Linked DNA regions of Homo sapiens: all the other regions are linked to region 1. The links are contacts of gene promoters, found by promoter capture Hi-C in blood cells and fetal thymus (Javierre and others, 2016). All regions are on one chromosome and are shown on one strand. The core of a region is centred on a gene start or on the middle of the fragment in contact, and the rest is flanking DNA. Distances in the headings are between cores, read along the strand shown.

The links. The method cuts DNA at HindIII sites, captures the fragments that hold promoters and counts their contacts. A CHiCAGO score of 5 or more calls a contact.
Region 2: a contact is called between a fragment that was not itself captured here and the fragment with the promoter of OXCT1-AS1 in region 1, in 2 of 17 cell types (non-activated CD4 T cells and naive CD8 T cells). The highest score is 7.8, in non-activated CD4 T cells.
Region 3: a contact is called between a fragment that was not itself captured here and the fragment with the promoter of OXCT1-AS1 in region 1, in 2 of 17 cell types (naive CD8 T cells and total CD8 T cells). The highest score is 7.5, in naive CD8 T cells.
Region 4: a fragment that was not itself captured here is called in contact with the fragment with the promoter of OXCT1-AS1 in region 1 in 1 of 17 cell types (activated CD4 T cells); the score reaches 5.9 in activated CD4 T cells.
Region 5: a contact is called between a fragment that was not itself captured here and the fragment with the promoter of OXCT1-AS1 in region 1, in 1 of 17 cell types (non-activated CD4 T cells). The highest score is 5.2, in non-activated CD4 T cells.
Region 6: a fragment that was not itself captured here is called in contact with the fragment with the promoter of OXCT1-AS1 in region 1 in 4 of 17 cell types (M2 macrophages, M1 macrophages, M0 macrophages and 1 more); the score reaches 7.2 in M2 macrophages.

Annotation. Positions count from the first base shown.
Region 1 is chr5:41,868,377-41,872,035 of GRCh38, forward strand. OXCT1-AS1 (OXCT1 antisense RNA 1) reads left to right here and starts at 1,654. Exons shown (of 3, transcript NR_046635.1): 1 at 1,654-1,816; 2 at 1,915-2,006; 3 at 2,390-3,659. OXCT1 (3-oxoacid CoA-transferase 1) reads right to left here and starts at 2,049. Exons shown (of 17, transcript NM_000436.4): 1 at 1,905-2,049. The coding sequence starts at 1,982. It overlaps LOC102723752 (a long non-coding RNA gene), which reads left to right. Exons shown (of 3, transcript XR_925956.4): 1 at 1-1,226. RefSeq lists enhancers at 1,686-1,765, 2,596-2,645. The HindIII fragment of the contact is 3,584 bases long and covers 1-2,401 here.
Region 2 is chr5:43,122,235-43,125,893 of GRCh38, forward strand. ZNF131 (zinc finger protein 131) reads left to right here. Exons shown (of 7, transcript NM_001330707.2): 3 at 975-1,076. Among named protein-coding and RNA genes, the nearest start is that of ZNF131, 3.2 kb to the left of the region's middle. RefSeq lists an enhancer at 1-335. The HindIII fragment of the contact is 1,119 bases long and covers 1,457-2,575 here.
Region 3 is chr5:43,048,216-43,051,874 of GRCh38, forward strand. The region is part of intron 2 of ANXA2R-OT1 (ANXA2R overlapping transcript 1); the gene reads right to left. Among named protein-coding and RNA genes, the nearest start is that of ANXA2R-AS1, 7.9 kb to the left of the region's middle. The HindIII fragment of the contact is 199 bases long and covers 1,662-1,860 here.
Region 4 is chr5:42,979,642-42,983,300 of GRCh38, forward strand. No RefSeq gene overlaps it. Among named protein-coding and RNA genes, the nearest start is that of FLJ32255, 12 kb to the right of the region's middle. RefSeq lists enhancers at 1,108-1,933, 1,934-2,759. The HindIII fragment of the contact is 9,477 bases long and covers 1-3,659 here.
Region 5 is chr5:42,918,224-42,921,882 of GRCh38, forward strand. It overlaps the pseudogene PRELID3BP6. Among named protein-coding and RNA genes, the nearest start is that of FLJ32255, 73 kb to the right of the region's middle. The HindIII fragment of the contact is 2,255 bases long and covers 715-2,969 here.
Region 6 is chr5:42,879,500-42,883,158 of GRCh38, forward strand. No RefSeq gene overlaps it. Among named protein-coding and RNA genes, the nearest start is that of SELENOP, 69 kb to the left of the region's middle. The HindIII fragment of the contact is 2,449 bases long and covers 548-2,996 here.

The DNA of each region.
Region 1 (3,659 bases), core at 404-2,903:
TACACATCTGAAAAGTTAAACAAGTAGATAAGTGGTACAGTTCAACAGAAGCAGCAGGTGAGGATTTAAAGTGCTAAACAATAAGGGCTGTAATCCCAGCACTTTGGGAGGCCGAGGCGGGCGGATCACGAGGTCAGGAGATCGAGACCATCCCAGCTAAAACGGTGAAACCCCGTCTCTACTAAAAATACAAAAAATTAGCCGGGCGTAGTGGCGGGCGCCTGTAGTCCCAGCTACTTGGGAGGCTGAGGCAGGAGAATGGCGTGAACCCGGGAGGCGGAGCTTGCAGTGAGCCGAGATCCCGCCACTGCACTCCAGCCTGGGCGACAGAGCGAGACTCCGTCTCAAAAAAAAAAAAACAATAAGGGCACTAAGAGCCACAAGCTAGGGGAATAGTGGAAGGCAGGAGTTAGACCTATGATAATCAAGCCTGACAGGGCTAAGTTTGAACTCTGTATGAACTTTTAATGAGATATAGCAGAACCCCTTATTTGCATCTCGTCCCTCTAAGATGAGGTTTGCTGAGCTTCGGAAATGGTTTAATGATATACTCAAGATGGAAAAGACTTGAAGTGAGTAAATTACAGTTGGGCAAATCAGTAACTGTCAAAAGAAGGAACGTTCCTGACCTCGGCCCAAGGGTATCGCTGTGCTCTGGTTTGTATTAGCTTCAGCACCGCTGCAATCTCACTGAAGGTCAAGTTCCCTTTTAATAATGCTTTATATATCCAAGTCTATCTGCAGTTATAAAAATGCTTCCTAAGAGGCATTTAAGAGTAAAATGGTCCAGTTCTGAACCATTCCCTAGCACCTACCGAAGGAGCTCAGTGGCTCCTCTGTGTTCTCAGCGGTCAGGGATTGGATGCAGGAAAGAGCAATGGGGCCAGGCAGGCACGCTTCAGGAGTAAGCACCGTGTGCATGGCACGCTGTCAAGCTCAGACCTATTACTGAATACCAAGGAAGAGGCTCCCGCGATTGAGACGGCGGGGATAAAGCCACCCTCCTGGACCTGGCGCTCTGGTCCTGTAATTCGCTCCTAGGGCTCCAGACAGGGGTGGGCTTACAAGCGAGGACAGTGCATAAGGCAAAACCACAAGTCAGTCCACGGTGGGAATGCCTCCGGATACCACTCGGTGGAGAGTCGGCAGTGGGGCACAAAAAGGATTTCAAAGGGCTCTGAAAACCGAAAGCCCCTAACCCGGATACGAGGGGCCTCGAGAGAAAGGTTTGTCCTCCCCTGCAGCCCAGGCGCGGGCCAGGGACACACCTCGGATGGTTTCCCAGCTTGGCCGGCAAGACGCCCTGGCGAGCGCTCCAGTCTACGGGGCAGCAGAGCCAAATAGGGAGGAGAGGATGGGAGCGGCATTCCACACCCGCCGCACCCGGCATCCAGCCCCGGTGAACTCGAGCAGAGCCATGGCTAACCCAGCCTCAGGTTCTGGGCCTCTAGAGGTTCCTCTGCCCAGAGATCCAACATCGGGGGCGCAAACCTACCCGCTGTTGCCTCACTCCTAAACCTCCATATACTGGCGCCCTCCTCCCCCCGTTCAGACCCTCAGAGTCCCTATCCAAGGGCGGGTGCCAGGAGGGAAGCCGACGAGCGCCAAAGGGCTCGGGAGCGCTGCCAGGAGTCCTCCCGCCCCTTCTCAGCCTCTCCGCGCGCTTCTTTATCGCGTCTCGCTCCATCAGGGAAGCGACTGCAGAACCAAGCAAAGGCGGTCATCCGAGGGGCCGGCGAGGCCAGGAACGCGTCGCCGCGTGTCCGTGACCAGGGCACCGCGCCACGGATGCCAGATCCCAGGCTGGAGAGAGCGGGTAGGGGCAGAGAAGAAAACGCGGGCACCACTCAGGGTTTGGTCCACGTTCTTCCTGCCCATGGCCTTCCTCTTCCCCCGCACTTTACCTTGTACCAGGTTGCCCCAGATCCGCGGGCAGAGGCGCAGAGCCGAAGCCCGGAGGAGAGGAGTTTGAGAGCCGCCATCTTCGGGCGGTGAGGCAGGAGGAGGCTGCGGGTTGGAGCGCGCGTTTGAGCGTCGGTGCGCGACTGCGAAGGAAACCCGGGCGGGCTGGAGGCTCGACAGCGCGTCGATGACGTCCTCCCGGCCTTTCGAGCCGCACGCCACCGGCGCGCTGCTGGCTGCTGCTTTTAAAAGAAGTGAGGCTGGGCGGGGCCCCGGCGGGGAGAAGAGGCTCTGTGCAGCCGGGGCGGATCGCGGGGAAGTTCCTCTCAGCGCCTCAGGTGTCTGGGCGTGTGCAGCTGTGTTGGCGCACACTTGCCGCTACAGCCCTTCTGTCAGCCCTTTAGCTTCGATGGGGCGCTGGTGGCCGCCTCCCCCTAGGTTGTGGATGAGTCTTGGCCTAGGGTTCAGGGCCCTCCGGCCGCGGGAGGATCTCCCGCCAAGCTTGTTGCTTTTCCAAGTTAGTGCCTGGCGTGTGTGTGGGCTGCATAGGGGCACCCCTCGAGGCCCCCTTCTCTTCTCCCGCCTGGACTGCGTTCACGTTTCTAACATTTCTCAGCCCCTTCTCCCCACATCTGGCCTTGGCTTACATAGAGTAAGTTTGCTGTGAGCACTTGCCTCGAACTGTCGGTCAAGAGGTGTGAGCAACAAGGCTTGCAGAGGAACAAGATTAAGACTGGACCTCTGTGACCTGAGTTTAGCACACCTTTTCTTCCCCATCATCCAAGTTTGCGAATTTCGGGCTCTTTCTCGCACTGGAGTCCCAGCAACCCCAGAGATTACTAAAGATGCAACCATAAAAGCAGTATATTGCTTTAACCTTAGGCAAGTTAGATAACTTCCCTAAGCCTCAGTGTCCTCATCTGCAAATTAGGATTGCTTGTGATACAACGTCATAACGTTTCTATGAGTTAATTCATGCAAAGTTTATGGCCTTATTATGAGGAGTCAATAAATGTTAGGCATTATTATAAGTTTATTCCATTGTAGCAGTTCATTGACATGGCACGTACATATTCGCCAAGCCTTGTCTTTTGACCAACTCCTTGAGGACATGAGCCACGACTGATTTCTCCAGAACTGTCTTTGCACTTAGCAGAGTGGAAAGACCAAGTGGAAGCTCAATAGCATTTTATTTGATTAAGGCCTGACCAAGTTCTGAGAATGTGATGTTAGTTTTGAACCAAAGCAAAGCACACAAAAATTAAATGAGATCTTAGCTTCCTTAGCAAATACAGTAAGGTAATGAACAGTGAAGATGCAGTTCAAAGTTTGTCCATAAAATCATTTGCCCTTTCATGGTATTCTTTTAACTCTGAACTTTTTTTTTTCCTGTAAATATTATAATTTTAGTCAAAATCAGTTAAGGAGTAAGATACCAAGTTAGACTATTCAATTACACTGGAGAAATTAACTTATTGCTAGTTGGTATTTCAACACATTTTAAGAAGTTGGATTGGGGGGAAATTCAAGTACTGTAACTAAAGTCCCATAACTAGTGATAATTTAGCATATAGCAGCTGTTGTACCTTTAACTTACACAATGTGAAAAAAACTAGCATTCCAATTGAGTCTGCTTTTCCACTTTTGCCCATTGCGATTGGGTCTGCTTTTCCACTTTTGCCCTTCCACAGGGCACATGAAATGGAAAAACTGCATTGGCAACTTTGCCGGTGGTCATATGACTGACTCTTGGCTGG
Region 2 (3,659 bases), core at 766-3,265, 1.3 Mb after region 1:
CGGACACCCGCCTTTTTTTTTTTTTTTTTTTTTTTAACCCATCCTCTATGGTCTCCCTACCAAAGTCTGCAGAGTGTGTGCACTGGGACCAGATTGCACTTGTCAGTGTCCACTCACACAGCGTGCTGCAGAAGGCTGGTTGGTCAGTCATGCCTTCCACGTAGTCTGGTGTTCATCTCATTTTAACTTCTTACATCCTGTTGAGTGCAAGATGATGTCGTTGGGGACAGATTGTCTCAAAATGTTTGGTTGATAGCCTCTTGTTGGTAAGCTTTGAGAAGTCCCTTACAGGAGTCATTTGGGAAGTGTTGATTTTTTTTCTAGTTTCCCAAATGGTCTTGAAGGGAGAATGAGAGATTCCATTGCAGCACTCATACCCCCTTTGAGAATCTCCAAAATAAAATGGGGTCTTTACCAGCCTTAGGAGTTGCCTCTATAATGGAAGGAAATCCAGCGTGGGTATGTTTTCTGTTTAGCGAAAATAGGTTTCTCAAGGTAACCTGTTTTTAAAATTATGGGTCTACCATAGATGGAGCTTCCAAATATTAGGCATATTAAAATGTTTTTCATAGCAGACATATCCAGCTTTGTGCTTACGGTTTTTTTCTCTCTTTCCAAATGATATGTGACCTTTTGGGTTGTCCTTTTATTTAGCAGTTTCAACTGAGTTGGATATGCTTCTCACTACTTAATTGGAAACAACAGAGTGTCAAGAGGCTCCTTACCTAGTGTTGTAAATTAGGCTTTATAAAACTAAAGGGGTTTGAAGTGAAGATTTAGCTTTATATCTAATTGAGATTAACATTTGCCAAGATAGCTGCCAAGAATATTCTGCATTTAGTTCAATAATTTCTGTAGTTACGTAATGAAGGAAGACCTATTTTGCTTTATATGATTTTTAAGTCTATTTTGTAGTTATACATTTGATTTTCGTGCTTGTGTATGATTTTCTTTTTTTTTCTTATTTTACCTAGGACACCATTTTAAGGCTCACAAGGCTGTTTTGGCTGCTTGTAGTAAGTTCTTCTACAAATTCTTTCAGGAGTTTACCCAAGAACCATTGGTGGAGATAGAAGGTAAATGATTCTTGTTGTTTTTTTATTTAATAAATCAAAGAAGCCATTTTATTTAAATGCTTGTTTTAAATACAATACTTAGCAAACAATTGGTGAAGCAGTTTTAGACAGTTTATCAAGACACCATAGGAAATAGGCATCAGTAGTTCCTGTAGGTAAAGGTAGATAAATTGTTCTTTTGATACCTGAGAAGTCTTACTTTCAGTGAAGTGCTTGGTTGAATGATCTGCCAGGAAAAACTTAGATGGTAGATGTTGGTCTTTTCCATTGTGGAAACTGGTGGTCATTGTTTTTTGAAAACAAGTATTAAACGTGAATTACTATCTTTGTTCAGTGGGCTTATGTTTCAGACTGCTGGAGATGCTGCAGGTTACAGTAGAAGCTTTTACTGTACTCTATAGCAGAAGTAGTGATGTATTAGCAGAGGTACAGATGACATGCAGTGTGAAGTGGGCTGCCATAATAGGGAGAAAGCTAGGAAAAATGAACTGAAGTAGCATTTAGAGGAAATTCTGGCTCTACAATGGGATGGATCAATACCTGTTACCTTGAAGCAAAAAGTGATTTTTGTACTTTCTAGACATTTTTCTAATAATAACCTGCCAAGTGCCAGGCGTTGTGATATGTAGTTTTGTGTATTGTCTAAGGCTCACAGCAATCGTTTGATGTTGGGCAGGATGGCTTGTGCTTGTAGTCCCAGCTACTCGGGAGGCTGAGGCAGGAGGATTGCTTGAGCCCAGGAGTTCGAGGCCAGCCTGGGGCAACATAGACCCTGTCTTTTCTTTTCTTTTCTTTTCTTTTCAAAAAGGGAAGTGGTGTTATTTGTAATAATTTACACTTCAGGAAGCAGGCTCTAAAAGGTTACTTGCCCAGGGTTGTCCAACTAGCAAGGAATTAAGTTTGTGCTATTAATTACCATGCTTTTTCTTCTGCTACTGCAGTAACTCCTCCCCTACCACCAGCATCAAAATCTAAAACAGCAGGAAATAAATGTTTGCCTACGTAATTACAGAATTTTAGCTTCTTTTAGGGTTCTTGGGTTTTGGTTTTATATCTATTTCATTGTGTACGTATTCTTTGTTCTGAATGGGTTGCCTAGAAACTCCTTTTTTCCCTTTGATGCCTAGGGGAGTAAAGAAAACAAAAAAGAGTTAAGAATATTCTTTAATTTTGGTATATTCCAGTTTAGCATTATAGCTGATATATTTACAGCTAGAGTATCTTTTAATATCTATAATCAGGACAGAGACATAATTATGAAAATCCACAAAACTTAATAAAGTGAGAATCTAACTGCCCAGATGATAGTGGTTTCTACTACAAAGCAAGCCTCCATGAATTCATTCACACCTGAGGTTTATTAAATATGTGACCCCAGGCGGGTTACTTTACCTCAATTGCATACTTTTCTCCTCATCTGAAAAGTGGGTTCATAGGATTATAAAGACTAATTGCGATAACATGCAGAGTGCATGGCATGATATTTGGTGCCTTGTCAAAGCTTGATAAACAGGGTCCAGTCTAAGAAACATTAGGGAGACCTCTTCTCTACAAAAAATTTAAAAAATTATTAGCTGAGTCTGATGGCACATGCCTGTGGTCCCAGCTATTCAGGAGGCTGAGGCGGGAGGATTGCTGGGGCCCAGGAGGTCAAAGCTGCAGTGAGCCATGATTTTGCCACTGCATTGTAGCCTGGGCGACAGAGCAAGGCCCTGTCTCAAAAAAAAAAAAAAAAAGTCAGTTTATCATATTGAATATCTATAATATATCATGTACTATGTTAGACCCAGGAGATGAAGAATTAATGAATAAGATGTCCCTTAAAGAAGTCGGAAAATTTCATAACAGGTGAGCAACAGGCAAATAAAGGAGTGCAAAAAGTATTACAAAGACTATTACTGTGAAATGGTATCACTGAAGAGGGAGAATGAGTGGTTTGGTCTTCCTTAGGAAAGATTTCAAAGAGGAGTTTTGAGTCTGAGCAGAATTTTTTTTTTCTTTTTTTTGGAGATAGATTTTAGCTCTTGTTACCCAGGCTGGAGTGCAATGGCGTGATCAGGCTGGTCTCGAATTCCCCACCTCAGGTGATCCACCCGCCTCTTCCTCCCAAAGTGCTGGGATTACAGGCGTGAGACCACGACTGGCCAAGTCTGAGCAGAATTTTTAAGTCTTAAAAAATAAGTGGCCTGGCCGGATGCGGTGGCTCACGCCTGTAATCCCAGCACTTTGGGAGGCCGAGGCAGGCAGATCACCTGAGGTCGAGAGGTCGAGACCAGCCTGACCAACATGGTGAAACCCTGTCTCTACTAAAAATATAAAATTAGCCGGGCGTGGTGGTGGGCACCTGTAATCCCAGCTACTCAGGAAGGCCGAGGCAGGAGAATCGCTTGAACCCGGGAGGCGGAGGTTGTAGCGAGCTGAGTCACGCCATTGCACTCCAGCCTGGGCAACAAGAGTGAAACTCCGTCTCAAAGAAAAAAAAAAGGAAAAGTGGCCCAAGCTGGAATATTTGTTGCTGGTAGAATGAGCACACATTACCTGGAGAAGTAGAAGTAGAGCCTGGTCTTCTGAAGACTAGTCACC
Region 3 (3,659 bases), core at 511-3,010, 1.2 Mb after region 1:
TGAGGTTACACAAAAAAGTGCATCATGCCAAAACAGGTTATAGGAGAGAGAAAACTTGTAAGGGTTCAGACTCTGTTAATCCTTCCTAGATCCAGACAAGAGAAGGCCTGTATGAATCAATGCAGATTTTCTACAGATGCAAATTTTTCCCACAAACGAAAGCATTGCAGGACTACTTATTTTGCTGGTTCTCTGGCAGCCATCTGAAAATATTTCAAATAAATATATTTTGGGGTTAAACATTTTTATTTCTTTCAAGGTGGAATATTAACTATGTATGTCTCTTATAGATATAGTTTTAAATAAATAAGGGAATCCACTTTTTCTAATTTGTTAAGATATGTTTTGTTTTAAGAATGACAAGGGGTTAAATTTTTAAAAGATTTTCTGCATCTACTGATATTATCACATGGTTTACTTCCTTTTTAATGTTAATGTGTTGACTAATATTAACTGATTTTCAAGTGCTAAACCAATATTGAGTTCATGGAATAAATCCCACTGGATCATGATGTATTTTTTAAAACATATATTGCTGGATTCAATATGCTAATACATTATAATTTTTATCACCTGTGATCATGAGAGCTCTTGGCTAACCAAAAAATTGGGGGATTGACAAGAGTGATATACAAAATAGGCATATAAATATTCATACTTGCTTGATATTTAAAAGGGCCTTTTAATTTTTCTGCCCTGCTCAGGCAGACTTATTAAATACTGGCATCATGTCTCATTCGGGGCCATTCAAAGGTCAATAGTGACCTGAATCATTCTATTTTTGTAGGCATCCTCATAATCTTTTCAATACAGATTGAATTATTTAGGATTCAGTCTGCAGAAGAAAAAAGTCAAAGCATATAAGGTAAACAGAGAGGCATATTTTATTGGCCTGGCTTCCACAGGAAGCATTAGCTAAAGTGAAAACTTATGTGCCACTTTTTAATTCAAAAGTGGTTTTTTTAAGAGAGTGGGAGTTAAAAGACAGGGTAATTAGAATAGGAAGGAGTGAGAGACAATTCAATGGTGTGCTACTGAGGCAGAAAATTTAAAAATAAATACGCATTCATTCACTCCAAGAAAAGTAACAGGCAGGGCAAGGGTTAAAAAGAAAAGAACAAGTTCTCCTCTGCCTAGCAAGCTCACTTCAAAGACAGTTATAAGATACCCCTGTCCGGAAAGCCAAGTCCAAAGGAATGGGCTCCAGACACCCGCCCCTGCTCCAGAGCAAGGTTGAATGAAAAAAAAAAAAAAAGAAAGACAAATTCTTTTACTGTTACTCCTCTCCCAGGCTTCTTAAGCGAGATTATGTTTTACAAATGTCTGTATTTAGCCAGTTCTTGTTTTTCTTTCAATGCAGGCACAAGACCACCGACTATGCAAGGCCACAAGTTATGCTATGCTATAGATTATGTGACCTATCATATGATTAGCTGCTTTTGTTTTACTTTTGTAAGCCAGCTTATAAAAACCCCACTCTGTCTTTGTTCTAGGCTCAGCTTTTTGGATGCAAATCCACTGAGCCGGTGCGTACCTAAAATAAACAATCCTCCTGTTCTCCATATCAGTCTCTCTGGTCCTCAGTTTCCTGCAACACTACCTTATTGGCCCATACTGGGTATCACGCAGGGTCAGAGGCGAATTTACCATGCAGCTAAGGAAGCTTAGCTTTTAGGATCCGTTTGAACAGGTCTGTAATTTTGTACTCAAAATTTTTATTCTTTTTTTTAAAGAGAATCCCCCACTACTTTTATGAACATTGGGTACTATTAACTGAACCTACCTTGAACACAACAGTTTGCTTGATCACATGGAACCATCTTCTAGGAAGCCCTATCTAAGAATAATCCACTTAGGATAAGCTTCTAAGAATAATCCACTTAGGATGAAAGAAAGGGGAAGAATATATCCACTGTGGGAGAAATAAAACAATCCTGACACAAAAAGACCCCTGTGTACCCAACAGAAGAGAGACAGAACACTAGTATTGAATTAGCCTTAACAGATTTACATGCATGTAAGGTAGCATGACAATAACTATAAAGCTGGCTCATATCTCATATGCTTTGAACAAAGAATGGGGAAGAATGAGAACTGCTTTTACTGCTTCAAAAGAAAAGAGGGTACACCTTGTGACAGTTTCCCCTATACTGAGAAACCCTCAGCTCGTCCTTGTAGGTGCTGTTAAAAAACATCTGGATGTTATTTTCCTATGGCCCGGGTACATTCTGGAGACCGGGCTTAATCCCTAGAGATATTATATTTCCACTGTTAGAACAAAGATTCAGAGTTGTTACCACGTTGAATGTAATATCACTGTTTTCTTTCTTTTGTGGTTTTTAGGAACAGAAACAACACACTCAGACTTGAGAAACTGGTCTGGTTTAAAAGGGTTCCTGGCCTTACAGGTGGGTAAGAAATGTCACTTCCTGGCAGGCTGAGGAACATCAGGATATTTGGAGGACCTTGACAAGGGAAGAATTCACCGAAATCTATAGGTATTCCAGGCAAAGTGTGATAGCAAGATCCTGGTATGGTTTCCTAGCCTTGAGAGGCTTTTAAAAGTCTAATTTGAGATTCCTTATTAAAAGATCCAGAAAAGCCAACTTAAAGAGACCCTGTGTGGTAAAACACTATTCCTGCTGCACTTGTGTAAATATTAGGCCAACTTTAAAGACACTAAATTTATTTTGCAAACAGATTACTCTTACTAATACTTTGATGATGTTTGATAAAAAGGGAGTAAGTATAGAGAAAAAACTTTCAGAGAAAAAAATATAGTGCACCTGTTATTAGACTCTAGCTCATTGTTTTTGAGGTTTTTTCGTCTACCTGAAATCTAGACTGGATCTTGAATTTTTTGTTTCCTGTAATATCTGGCAATGGGCTGGGTGTCAGAGCTCGCAACTGCAATCCCAGCACTTTGGGAGGTCGAGGTGGGAGGATTGCTGAAGCCCAAGACTTCGAGACCAGCCTGGGCAAAAGGCGAAACACCGTCTCTACAAAAAGTTCAAAAATTTGCTGGGCATGGAGGCATGCGCCTGTGGTTGCAGCTGCTTGGAAGGTGGAGGTGGAAGGATTGCTTGAGCCAAGGAGGTTGAGGCTGCAGTAAGCCTTGTTTGTGCCACTGCACTCCAGCCTCAATTACAAAGCAAGGACCCCATCTCAAAAAAAAAAAAAAAAAGGGCTGGACGCATTGGCTCATGCCTGTAATCCCAGCACTTTGGCAGGTTGAGGCAGGTGGATCACTTGAGGCTAGGAGTTCGAGGCCAGCCTGGCCAACATGGTGAAAACCCATCTCTACAAAAAATACAAAAATTAGCTGGGTGTGGTGGTGTGCACCTGTAATTCTAGCTACTCGGGAGGCAGGGGCAGGAGAATTGCTTGAACACAGAGGTGAATGTTGCAGTGAGTGGAGATGGTGACACTGTACTCCAGCCTGGGCGACAGAGCAAGACTTCACCTAAAAAAAAAAAAAGTCTAGCTATGGCTCTTAAAACTAATATTTCTGATTTTTCTTCTACCCTTCTGGCTTTGAACTGCTGAAATTAAACTGCACTTTTCCTGAAGTCTTGTCAGCTGAAGCTGGATGGGTTAATATAGACTGCAGAGAAATCACCACCACTCATACATGGACTACTCAGAAATTTCACCAGAAC
Region 4 (3,659 bases), core at 357-2,856, 1.1 Mb after region 1:
GGGGCGCCTCTGCCCAGCCGCCCCGTCTGGGAAGTGAGGAGCCCCTCTGCCCAGCCGCCACCCCGTCTGGGAGGTGTACCCAAGAGCTCATTGAGAACGGGCCATGATAACGATGGCGGTTTTGTGGAATAGAAAAGGGGGAAATGTGGGGAAAAGAAAGAGAGATCACCCCTCCCCCTCCCCCTCCCTCTCTCCATGGTCTCCCTCTCCCTCTCTTTCCACGGTCTCCCTCTGATGCCGAGCCGAAGCTGGACTGTACTGCTGCCATCTCGGCTCACTGCAACCTCCCTGCCTGATTCTCCTGCCTCAGCCTGCGGAGTGCCTGCGATTGCAGGCGCGCGCCGCCACGCCTGACTGGTTTTCGTATTTTTTTGGTGGAGACGGGGTTTCGCTGTGTTGGCCGGGCTGGTCTCCAGCTCCTAACCGCCAGTGATCCGCCAGCCTCGGCCTCCCGCGGTGCCGGGATTGCAGACGGAGTCTGGTTCACTCAGTGCTCAATGGTGCCCAGGCTGGAGTGCAGTGGCGTGATCTCGGCTCGCTACAACCTCCACCTCCCAGCCGCCTGCCTTGGCCTCCCAAAGTGCTGAGAGTGCAGCCTCTGCCAGGCCGACACCCCGTCTGGGAATTGAGGAGCGTCTCTGCCTGGCCGCCCATCGTCTGGGACGTGAGGAGCCCCTCTGCCTGGCTGCCCAGTCTGGAAAGTGAGGAGTGTCTCTGCCCGGCCGCCATCCCATCTAGGAAGTGAGGAGCGCCTCTTCCCGGCCGCCATCCCATCTAGGAAGTGAGGAGCGTCTCTGCCCGGCCACCCATCGTCTGAGATGTGGGGAGCGCCTCTGCCCCGCCACCTCATCTGGGATGTGAGGAGCACCTCTGCCCGGCCGCGACCCCGTCTGGGAGGTGAGGAGCGTCACTGCCTAGCCGCCCCGTCTGAGAAGTGAGGAGACCCCCCGCCTGGCAACCGCCCCGTCTGAGAAGTGAGGAGCCCCTCCGCCCGGCAGCCACCCCGTCTGGGAAGTGAGGAGCGTCTCCGCCCGGCAGCCACCCCGTCCGGGAGGGAGGTGGGGGGGTCAGCGCCCCGCCCGGCCAGCCGCCCCGTCCGAGAGGGAGGTGGGGAGGGTCAGCCCCCCGCCCGGCCAGCCGCCCCGTCTGGGAGGTGAGGGGCGCCTCTGCCCAGCCGCCCCTACTGGGAAGTGAGGAGCCCCTCTGCCCGGCCACCACCCCGTCTGGGATGTGTACCCAACAGCTCATTGAGAACGGGCCATGATGACAGTGGCGGTTTTGTGGAATAGAAAGGGGGGAAAGGTGGGGAAAAGATTGAGAAATCGGATGGTTGCCGTGTCTGTGTAGAAAGAAGTAGACATGGGAGACTTTTCATTTTGTTCTGTACTAAGAAAAATTCTTCTGCCTTGGGATCCTGTTGATCTGTGACCTTACCCCCAACCCTGTGCTCTCTGAAACATGTGCTGTGTCCACTCAGGGTTAAATGGATTAAGGGCGGTGCAAGATGTGCTTTGTTAAACAGATGCTTGAAGGCAGCATGCTCGTTAAGAGTCATCACCACTCCCTAATCTCAAGTACCCAGGGACACAAACACTGCGGAAGGCCGCAGGGTCCTCTGCCTAGGAAAACCACAGACCTTTGTTCACTTGTTTATCTGCTGACCTTCCCTCCACTATTGTCCTATGACCCTGCCAAATCCTCCTCTGCGAGAAACACCCAAGAATGATCAATTAAAAAAAAAAAATAAAGCTGTTTAAACACAAAAAAAAAAAAAAAAAAAGAAAGAGATCAGATTGTTACTGTGTCTGTGTAGAAAGAACTAGACATAGGAGACTCCATTGTGTTCTGTACTAAGAAAAATTCTTCTGCCTTGGGATGCTGTTAATCTATAACCTTACCCCCAACCCCGTGCTCTCTGAAACATGTGCTGTGTCCACTAAGGGTTAAATGGATTAAGGGCGGTGCAAGATGTGCTTTGTTAAACAGATGCTTGAAGGCAGCATGCTCGTTAAGAGTCATCACCACTCCCTAATCTCAAGTACCCAGGGACACAAACACTGCGGAAGGCCGCAGGGTCCTCTGCCTAGGAAAACCACAGACCTTTGTTCACTTGTTTATCTGCTGACCTTCCCTCCACTATTGTCCTATGACCCTGCCAAATCCTCCTCTGCGAGAAACACCCAAGAATGATCAATTAAAAAAAAAAAATAAAGCTGTTTAAACACAAAAAAAAAAAAAAAAAAAGAAAGAGATCAGATTGTTACTGTGTCTGTGTAGAAAGAACTAGACATAGGAGACTCCATTGTGTTCTGTACTAAGAAAAATTCTTCTGCCTTGGGATGCTGTTAATCTATAACCTTACCCCCAACCCCGTGCTCTCTGAAACATGTGCTGTGTCCACTAAGGGTTAAATGGATTAAGGGCGGTGCAAGATGTGCTTTGTTAAACAGATGCTTGAAGGCAGCATGCTCGTTAAGAGTCATCACCACTCCCTAATCTCAAGTACCCAGGGACACAAACACTGCGGAAGGCGGCGGCGGGGCGCTCTGCCTAGGAAAACCAGAGAGCTTTGTTCACATGTTTATCTGCTGACCTTCCCTCCACTATTGTCCTATGACCCTGCCAAATCCCCCTCTCTGAGAAACAGCCAAGAATGATCAATAAATACTAAGAAAATAAAAAATAAAAAAAGAAATAATGACACATCTTACAATGACTAGTTTCTTAGATTGAGGAAATTATAATTCCAGACAAATGTTAAGCCAAAGAAGGCCAGTGTAGCTCTAGTACTACATTGGCTTAGCCTCTCTCTTCAAATTACTTAGCTTGCTGAAATAATCCAATTAGGCCATCTGGAAAAAAAAAAAAAAAAAAAAAAACACAAGACAAACCAATACAAAAGATGTGCCTGATCGTTACAGGACCAACAGGTTTGGATATCTGCTGTGCAGTAACATAAATATATACCAAAACACTGAAACAGCAGGGCTTACAGCAGAAAAAGAATGTAATGATAGCAGGGCAGCCAGGTGAGGAAACAGGAGGGACCCTCAAATCCACCTCCCTGAGAAATTCTGGTCTGGAGGTGTTTGTTTTTGTTTTGTTTTGTTTTGTTTTTAACAGAATCTTGCTCCATCACCCAGGCTGGAGTGCAGTGGTGTGATCTCAGCCCACTGCAACCTCTGCCTCCCGGGTTCAGGCGATTCTCCTGCCTTAGCCTTCTCCTGCTTCAGCCTCCTGAATAGCTAGGATTACATGTGTGCACCACCACACCCGACTAATTTTTGTATTTTTAGTAGAGATGGGGTTTCAGTGGTCTCGTACTCCTGACCTGGTGATCTGCCCACCTCAGCCTCCCAAAGTCCTGGGATTACAGGAGTGAGCCACCGTGCCCCGCCCAGCTCTGGAGTTTTTAAGGAGATTGTGGAGAGCAAGAAACTGAAAAATTGGGGTCATTGATTGTTTGGGGTAAAGGGGATGAAATCATCAAAATATAGAAACTGCATTCTTCGGTGAGCCAGCTCCTCATGGGGTCTTTCAGACTAGCTGGCATCAATAGTTTTATCAGTCTTCAGGACATAAGAGAATATATCAAATGAAAACCTTGACATTTTACAATGTTAAAGGTGTTCTCTACAGAGCAGTTAAGGGAAACTATA
Region 5 (3,659 bases), core at 592-3,091, 1.1 Mb after region 1:
ACATTGAAAGAAATTATTCTTCTTAATGTTTATTTTAAATTCAGGGTACATATGCAGGTTTGTTATTTTGGTAAACTTGTGTCATGGGAGTTTGTTGTACACATTATTTTATCACCCAGGTATGAAGCCTGGTGCCCATTACTATTTTTCCTGATCTTCTCCCTCCTTCCATCATCCACCTTCAATAGGCTCCAGTGTCTGTTGTTCCCCTCTTTGTGTCCATGTCCATGTCATCTCCAGCTTGTAAGTGAGAACATGTGGTATTTGTTTTTCTATTCCTGCATTAGTTTGCTAAGAAAAAACAGCCTCCAGCTCCATCTATGTTCCTGCAAAAGACATGATCTTGTTCTTTTTTATGGCTGCATAGTATCCCATGGTGTATATATACCACATTTTCTTTATCCAGTCCACCATTAAAGGACATTTAGGTTGATTCCATGTCTTTGCTATTGTGAATAGTGCACATGCATGTATGGTCTTTATGGTAGAACAATTTATATTCCTTTGGTACATACCCAGTAATGGGATTGCTGGGTCAAATGGTATTTCTGTTATTTGGTCTTTGAGGAATTGCCATGCTGTTTTCCACAATGGTGGAAATATTTACACTAATTTACACTCTCACCAATTGTGTATAAGCAAAATTTTAACATTTTTTTAAAAAGTACTTGGAAGTTTGCATTGACATTGAATCAACTTAAGGTAGAATTTTAAAGCTTTTCATACTTTGGAACACCACCTGGCTTTGGTCCAACCCCAGAACAAAGCAGAGCCATCTCTTACATACAAACAATTGTCCTGCTGCTGTAAACTTCAACACCTTGCATGAGGAAATTCAATTTAAAAGGAGAACTTGTATAGCTTTCAAACATATTAATATGTTTATTAATAATAACTTGCTCTGCAAGTTATTTTAAACCATCATTAAAAACCAGTGTTTGCCGGGTGCAGTGGTTCACACCTGTAATCCCACTGCTTTGGGAGGCCAAGGAGGGCAGATCACGAGGTCAGGAGTTTGAGACCAGCCTCGCCAACATAGTGAAACCCCATCTCTACTAAAAATACAAAAAAATTAGCCAGGCGTGGTGGTGGGCACCTGTAATCCCAGCTACTTGGGAGGCTGAGGCAGGAGAATCGTTTGAACCTATGAGGCGGAGGTTGCAGTGAGCTCAGATCACACCATTTCACTTCAGCCCGGGCTACAGTGCAAGACTCCATCTCAAAAACAAAACAAAACAAAACAAACAAACAAATGAACCAGTGTTTTGGTTTACTACTTAAGTATATTTGGAGTGAAAATTATCACTAAAATAATATATGACTCTAACAAAAATGCTTTCATTGTAATAAAATGTACTACATTGATTTGCCAAAGTTTTGCAACCTGGTAAAGGTTGCAAAAGGTCCTTGGATTTGTAGTTTGTGATTTAATATGCTGTACCATGGACTGGTTATGTTAACTGGAAAAATAAATTTGTTACTTGAAAATCCAAACAAAACAAAAAACAAAAAGCGAAGGCAGATTAAAGAGGACCACAGGAAGATTTATAGCCTTGTGCCTTCTGAGTTGACAACCACAGAGTTCCAGGGCATTAACTCTAGATCTGACAATTCCAGGCACCTACAGAATTCTCCCCTGGTGAGTCTTACCCACGATCTGGAAGTCCAAGATCAAAGCACCAGATTCAGCTCTTGGTGGGGATTCTCTTTCTGTCGTGCCAATGGCCATGTTGTTGCTGTGTTCTCACATGGCACAGAGGGAAAGAAAAAGAGAGAAAGGGGGAGAAAGGGAGAGAGGGAGAAGGGGAGAGAACAAGAAGGACATGGTATCTCTTCCTTTTCTCGGAAGGCCGCCAATCCCATTATGAAAGCCCCAACCTCGTAACTTCATCTTAACGTGCTTGTCTCCCAAAGGCTCCATCTCTAAATACCATCACCTTGTGGATTAATCAAAATCATCATGAATTTTGGGGAAGACAATTCAGTCCATAGCACCAAGTGTATGTGATGATCTCATAATCTCTGCCCATCTCAGGGCCTGCATCAACTGAGACTATTTTCTTTCTTCAGGCATTTCAGAAGACAGAGATTTTTTTTAAAAAAAGGTGCAGCAGAGAATACAATGCATTGATTAATTAATTAATTAATTAATTCTGAGACAGCATCTCACTCCAGCACCCTGGATTATTTGGGTTACTTCAGTGCCCCTCTGGCAGGTGATATTGTTTCACATTCATTGCTTGCCTGTATGGGGGCAAGTACACAGGCATCCATTGGGCCAATCCCCTTTTTGTAGCTTGATTACTTTCCAGACTCAGACCTTATTCTTATTCAGCTCATTTGAGGTCCACTAATGCTCTAATGCTTAACTCATAGCATAGATTTTATTTCACATTAATGGATTCAGAAGTGTGACCAATGCCCAATGTCACAATTCTTTTTTAATTGGAAATGACCCAGACATTCAATGGTATCTGAAATAATTTTAATAGTTTAAGTTACATTAAAAGTTCACCTACAAGCATTGATTCCATTTACATTTATTCAATTTATTCACCTATAGCAGTTTATCTAGATTAGTTCTTAGAACTAAGACATTAGACAACACTAATTATCGCTCCAAGTTATTTCTTTGTTAACAATTTGCATGGCCTGTGAATATCAGGTGTTCACCTATGCAAAAATCTTAAACACATGGGCATTTTTTTCTGATAATACAGAAAAATTAATTATTCTTATGGAACCAACAATATTAAATTAGTCTTATTTATCAAAAAAGTCATTCAAAGAAAGATTATTCTGTTTTTGGTTGAGTTTATGATCTTATAACCTTCATGTAAAATTCTAGCATGTTCAAATATTTAGCAAAGGCAAATATAAAACTCATCTAATTAGTAAACCCAGAAAAAAATGTATGTTTACCATTCCAAAGACATTTCTATTTTTATTTTGTGAATAGTTTTAAAGCAAGCTTATTATTAAAGACTACTAAATTCACACAAATTTGAAAAGCATTTGGACTTTCTTGCTAAATTTGTAAGCACTCATTTACTTATAAGCCAATATGGTGCCATTTTGGACATAACATACAACATAATACATGTAACACGCACAGAAACACATAGAAACACGTATCCATACACACAAAGATCAAATAGATGTTACCGTGAAACTCTAGCCATGACATGGCATCATAAACTCATTATTTTACAAAAGGCAGCTGGAGTGGATCCAAATTATTTCAGGACAGGACAAAACTGGGACCTGTCCACATGGCTAAACTTTATCTGCCCTGATAGGTAATCCAGTTAATGCTGTGGACCAAACCTTTGGCTAATGCAGTTTCCATAGTAGTTTTATATCTAAAACTTTTTTTAACCATTTTTTCCTTCAGTTCCAAATTAGTTTCCAATGTTTACATCTTAGCTAGAACTGGCTGAACTGCATACAAAAAACAAAGTTTCCAGGCCGGGCACAGTGGCTCACGCCTGTAATCCCAGCACTTTGGGAGGCTGAGGTGGTCGGATCACGAGGTCAGGAGATCCAGACCATCCTGGCTAACATGGCGAAACCCCGTCTGTACTAAAAAAATACAAAACATTATCCGGGCGTGGTGGTGGGCGCCTGTAGTCCCAGCTACTCTGGGAGGCTGAGGCAGG
Region 6 (3,659 bases), core at 522-3,021, 1.0 Mb after region 1:
GTAAGAGAATTGCCTCTAGAGTGGACTTTGCTATGAACTCGTCTCTGAGGCTGTTTTATGATCTTTATGATAGTCAGGCATTGGGAGGGTGATCATTTTAGGTTACCAGGGCCCTAGCCTTGATTTGCACCATATGACCCAGGCAGATTTCCAAGAGAAAGAATCTGCAAGCCAAACCAGTGGATCTTAATCTAGAGTCTTCAGACACTCAAGGTGTCCTTGAAAGTAACAATAAAAGTCTGAGAAGTTTCTTTAAGATAGTGTTTTCTAAAAAGCATATCTTCATTTGCTCACTATAATGCTGCAAATGCTTGCTAGATCCCCAAGTTTCTATGCTTTTAGCTAAAATTATGTCATTCATTTTAGAAACAAGAGTAATTAGTCATTGACCACAAAATTCAATATGTGAAAAATCTAAGCATAAATTAGACTGGTTCCTTATATGATAGAAGTATTTTCTACTTCACTAAAATATTTGCAGTGTTTACATATTAGCATTTTCTTATATTTTTTACCTTAACTTTTTAATATATATTGAGTCACTATAAGCTTATAGTTATAATTCTGCCAATTTCCTTGAGAATTGTGTTTTCAGTTAAGTTCCCAAACAAACAAGTGTTTTAACAGACACTTGGGCTAAGAGATTGGCTAGTAGTTCTTTTTGTAAGTTGAGAATTTTAATGAGGTTAAAATATAAATTTAAAACTGTTTCATCTCTGCATGAATAAATGGACTTACTCTTCCACCATTTTATAGTGATGGTAAACAATGATAGCATGTTGATTTATTCAGAATTTGTAGTGTAAATTTCTACTGCGTAAAGTATACACACAATTTGTAAAAATTAAGGATAAAGAGGACTAATGGAGTAGCCATCTTCCTTCCCCTCCTCCTATATGCCCAAAGTAATTTAGAGTTGATTTGAAGCCACTTCTCTAGCAATTGGACTTGCATAGAATCGTGGGGGTTCACACATCACCAGCCCAGGAAACTTCAGGCTGTCCTTTGTTACTCTGTTTACTGAAATTGACATATCAGCAAGTTCAAAATTATCCTGAATAGTAGTTTTGGCATGTTCTACCTCTGGACCAGTGATAACTGTAGTCAGTGTATAATCCTTCCTGTTCAAATGGCCACACAGATTTCCTTAATGGCTTGACCTGCCAAGAGCTGGAGGCCTTAATCATCCCAGGAAAGAGGATGCCAAATACGGAGGATTTTAATTACTCTCATTTTCTTGGAGGAAAATCTCTTACAATCTTTGAAATATATTGCTTAGAACATTCCATATCTGAAAAGTAATGTTTTCTGTTAGCATCTATTGTGCAATTGGCTATAATGTGTTTACTTAAGAAAATATGGAGATGGCTTTTAACTAATTCAAAAACACAGTAAGACAGGGTATGTACACAATATTACATTTACTTAGTATGACAGTAAAGAATCCTTGTTCCCTTTTCTGGGACTTTGAGTTTAGCTCAACAAGATGGTTGCTACATAACTGTTTGAAATATTGATGCCATATAATTTTTAAAAATAGTTTTAAAGGGTGATTTGTTTTGTATTTCCTTGAACTCAAACCCTGAGACAAGGACTAGGTGCAAGCAGTTTATTTAAAAAGATCTACTAGGGAACCAGGTCAAGGGAGCTTGGAGAGGGACATGAGGAAGCAGGGAGAGCTCATGTAAGGATGCATTACTGAGGTCCCTGCCATCAGCAATGGAGATTCAATTCTGCTGGGACTTCTGAGTGGTGTACAGACTTTCTCTGAATGGTTCACCTGAAAGATGGAAGGCGGAGCAAATACTCCAACACCATTCTCCCAAGGGTTGGTCTCAAGGGCTTTAACCCCTGGCACTTCTGATCTGCTCTTGCACAAGCCAAAGATGTTCCCAGGGCCTGGGAGATGGCCTGGGGCAGAATGTGGAAAGACAAAAAGCAGGAGCCTCTTTTATTTTATATTTTATTTTGTGATAAGAGCATTTAGGATCTATGCTCTTAGAAAATTAGGTATTCAATACAGTATCTTTAACTACAGGTGCTATGCTGTACAGTAGGTCTCTAGGACTTATTTATCTTATATAACTGAAATTGTGTGCCCTTTGACCAACATCTTCCCTCTAGCGGACAGCTTGACTGCAAACTCATGACAGAATGTGGCCAAAACTACCCAGCTAAGCCACTCAGGTATTCCTGACACTGAGAAACTATAGGATATAATAGATTTTTTGTTGTTTTACGCTGTTGAGGGTAATTTATTTTGCAGCAATTGATAACCAATAGACTGTCCATATAAAGTAGAATATTGTGTGGTAATAAAATATCAGATTTTCAAAGAATTTTTGAGGATATGAAAAAGTGATGAGTATACAACATTAAGTGAAAACAGCAGGAAGCAGAACTATGTAGTGCGTGTTAATCACATCTGTTATTTTCTTCTGATCAGCAGATGTCTTTCCCCTCCTTCTTCTGCTAATAGAACTTCCCTTTCCTATGGGAAAAACATCTCACGTGTTTCAAGTGGTGCTTTGACTCCAACCCACATAGGTCAAAAACGTTAATTAGATTAAATTAAGGTAACTCATTTCCTTGGTACATCATGAAAGACAGGCTAATGAAAACAAGTCCTGGACCTTTTCTTCCTAGAACTTGGTTAAGGAAAAGAAAGGCCTTAACTCCCAAATAAAGATGGTGAAGATATCAGACACCCTAGGTTGAGTAGTTATTAAAGTCAGAACCAGCTTTAGACTTCTCAGTCATAAGCCAATAAACTCTGTTTGCTTAAGCTAATTGGGCTTGGGGTTCTGCCTGAATACAAATACAATATACAATATCATCCCATAATTGTATATAAAATGAATAAATAAAATTATTCACAAAGAATAATTTGGGGTAAATCTACCAAACGTTATCACTAGTTCTAGCTAGATTTCATATTATTGAACTTGCCATATCAGAAATTTTTAAAACAAAACTTCTTAGCCCTCACAGTTGGAAGCTTTGACTCAGTAGTTCTGGATTACAGACTAGATCTTTTATTGAATATTTCTATGTGTTTGTGAGTTTTCCAAAATTTCTCTTGATTTCTAGTTTTATATCATTCTGTTCAAAAAAGATATTTGATATGATTTCAATCTTCTTAAATTTGTTAAGACATATTTTGTGGCATATATGATTACATATTATCTGTCCTGGAGAATGTTCCTTTTGTGCTTAAGAAGAATGTGTATTCTGCAGCTATTGCAAGGAATGTCCTGTGTATGTCTGTTAGGTCCATTTGGTCTAAGGTATAGTCTAAGGCTAGTGTTTCCTTATTGATTTTTCTATGTGGATGATCTGTCCATTGCTAAAAGTTAAGTATAGCAATCTCTTACTGTTATTGTGTTATAGTCTAATCTCTTCCTTCAGATCTATTACTATTTGCTGTATATATTTAGGTACTTTTGTGTGGGCATGTATATATTTACATTCGTTATGTCCTTTGGCTAAATTAACCTCTTATCATTACATAATGACCTTCTTTGTTTCATTTTACACTTTTTGACTTAAAATTTATTTTACCTGTTCTAAGTATAGCTATTCCTGCTTTCTCTTGGTTTCCATTTATATCACTTTCATTCTATGTGTTGTATTCTTACAGATGAAGTGAGTCTCTTGTA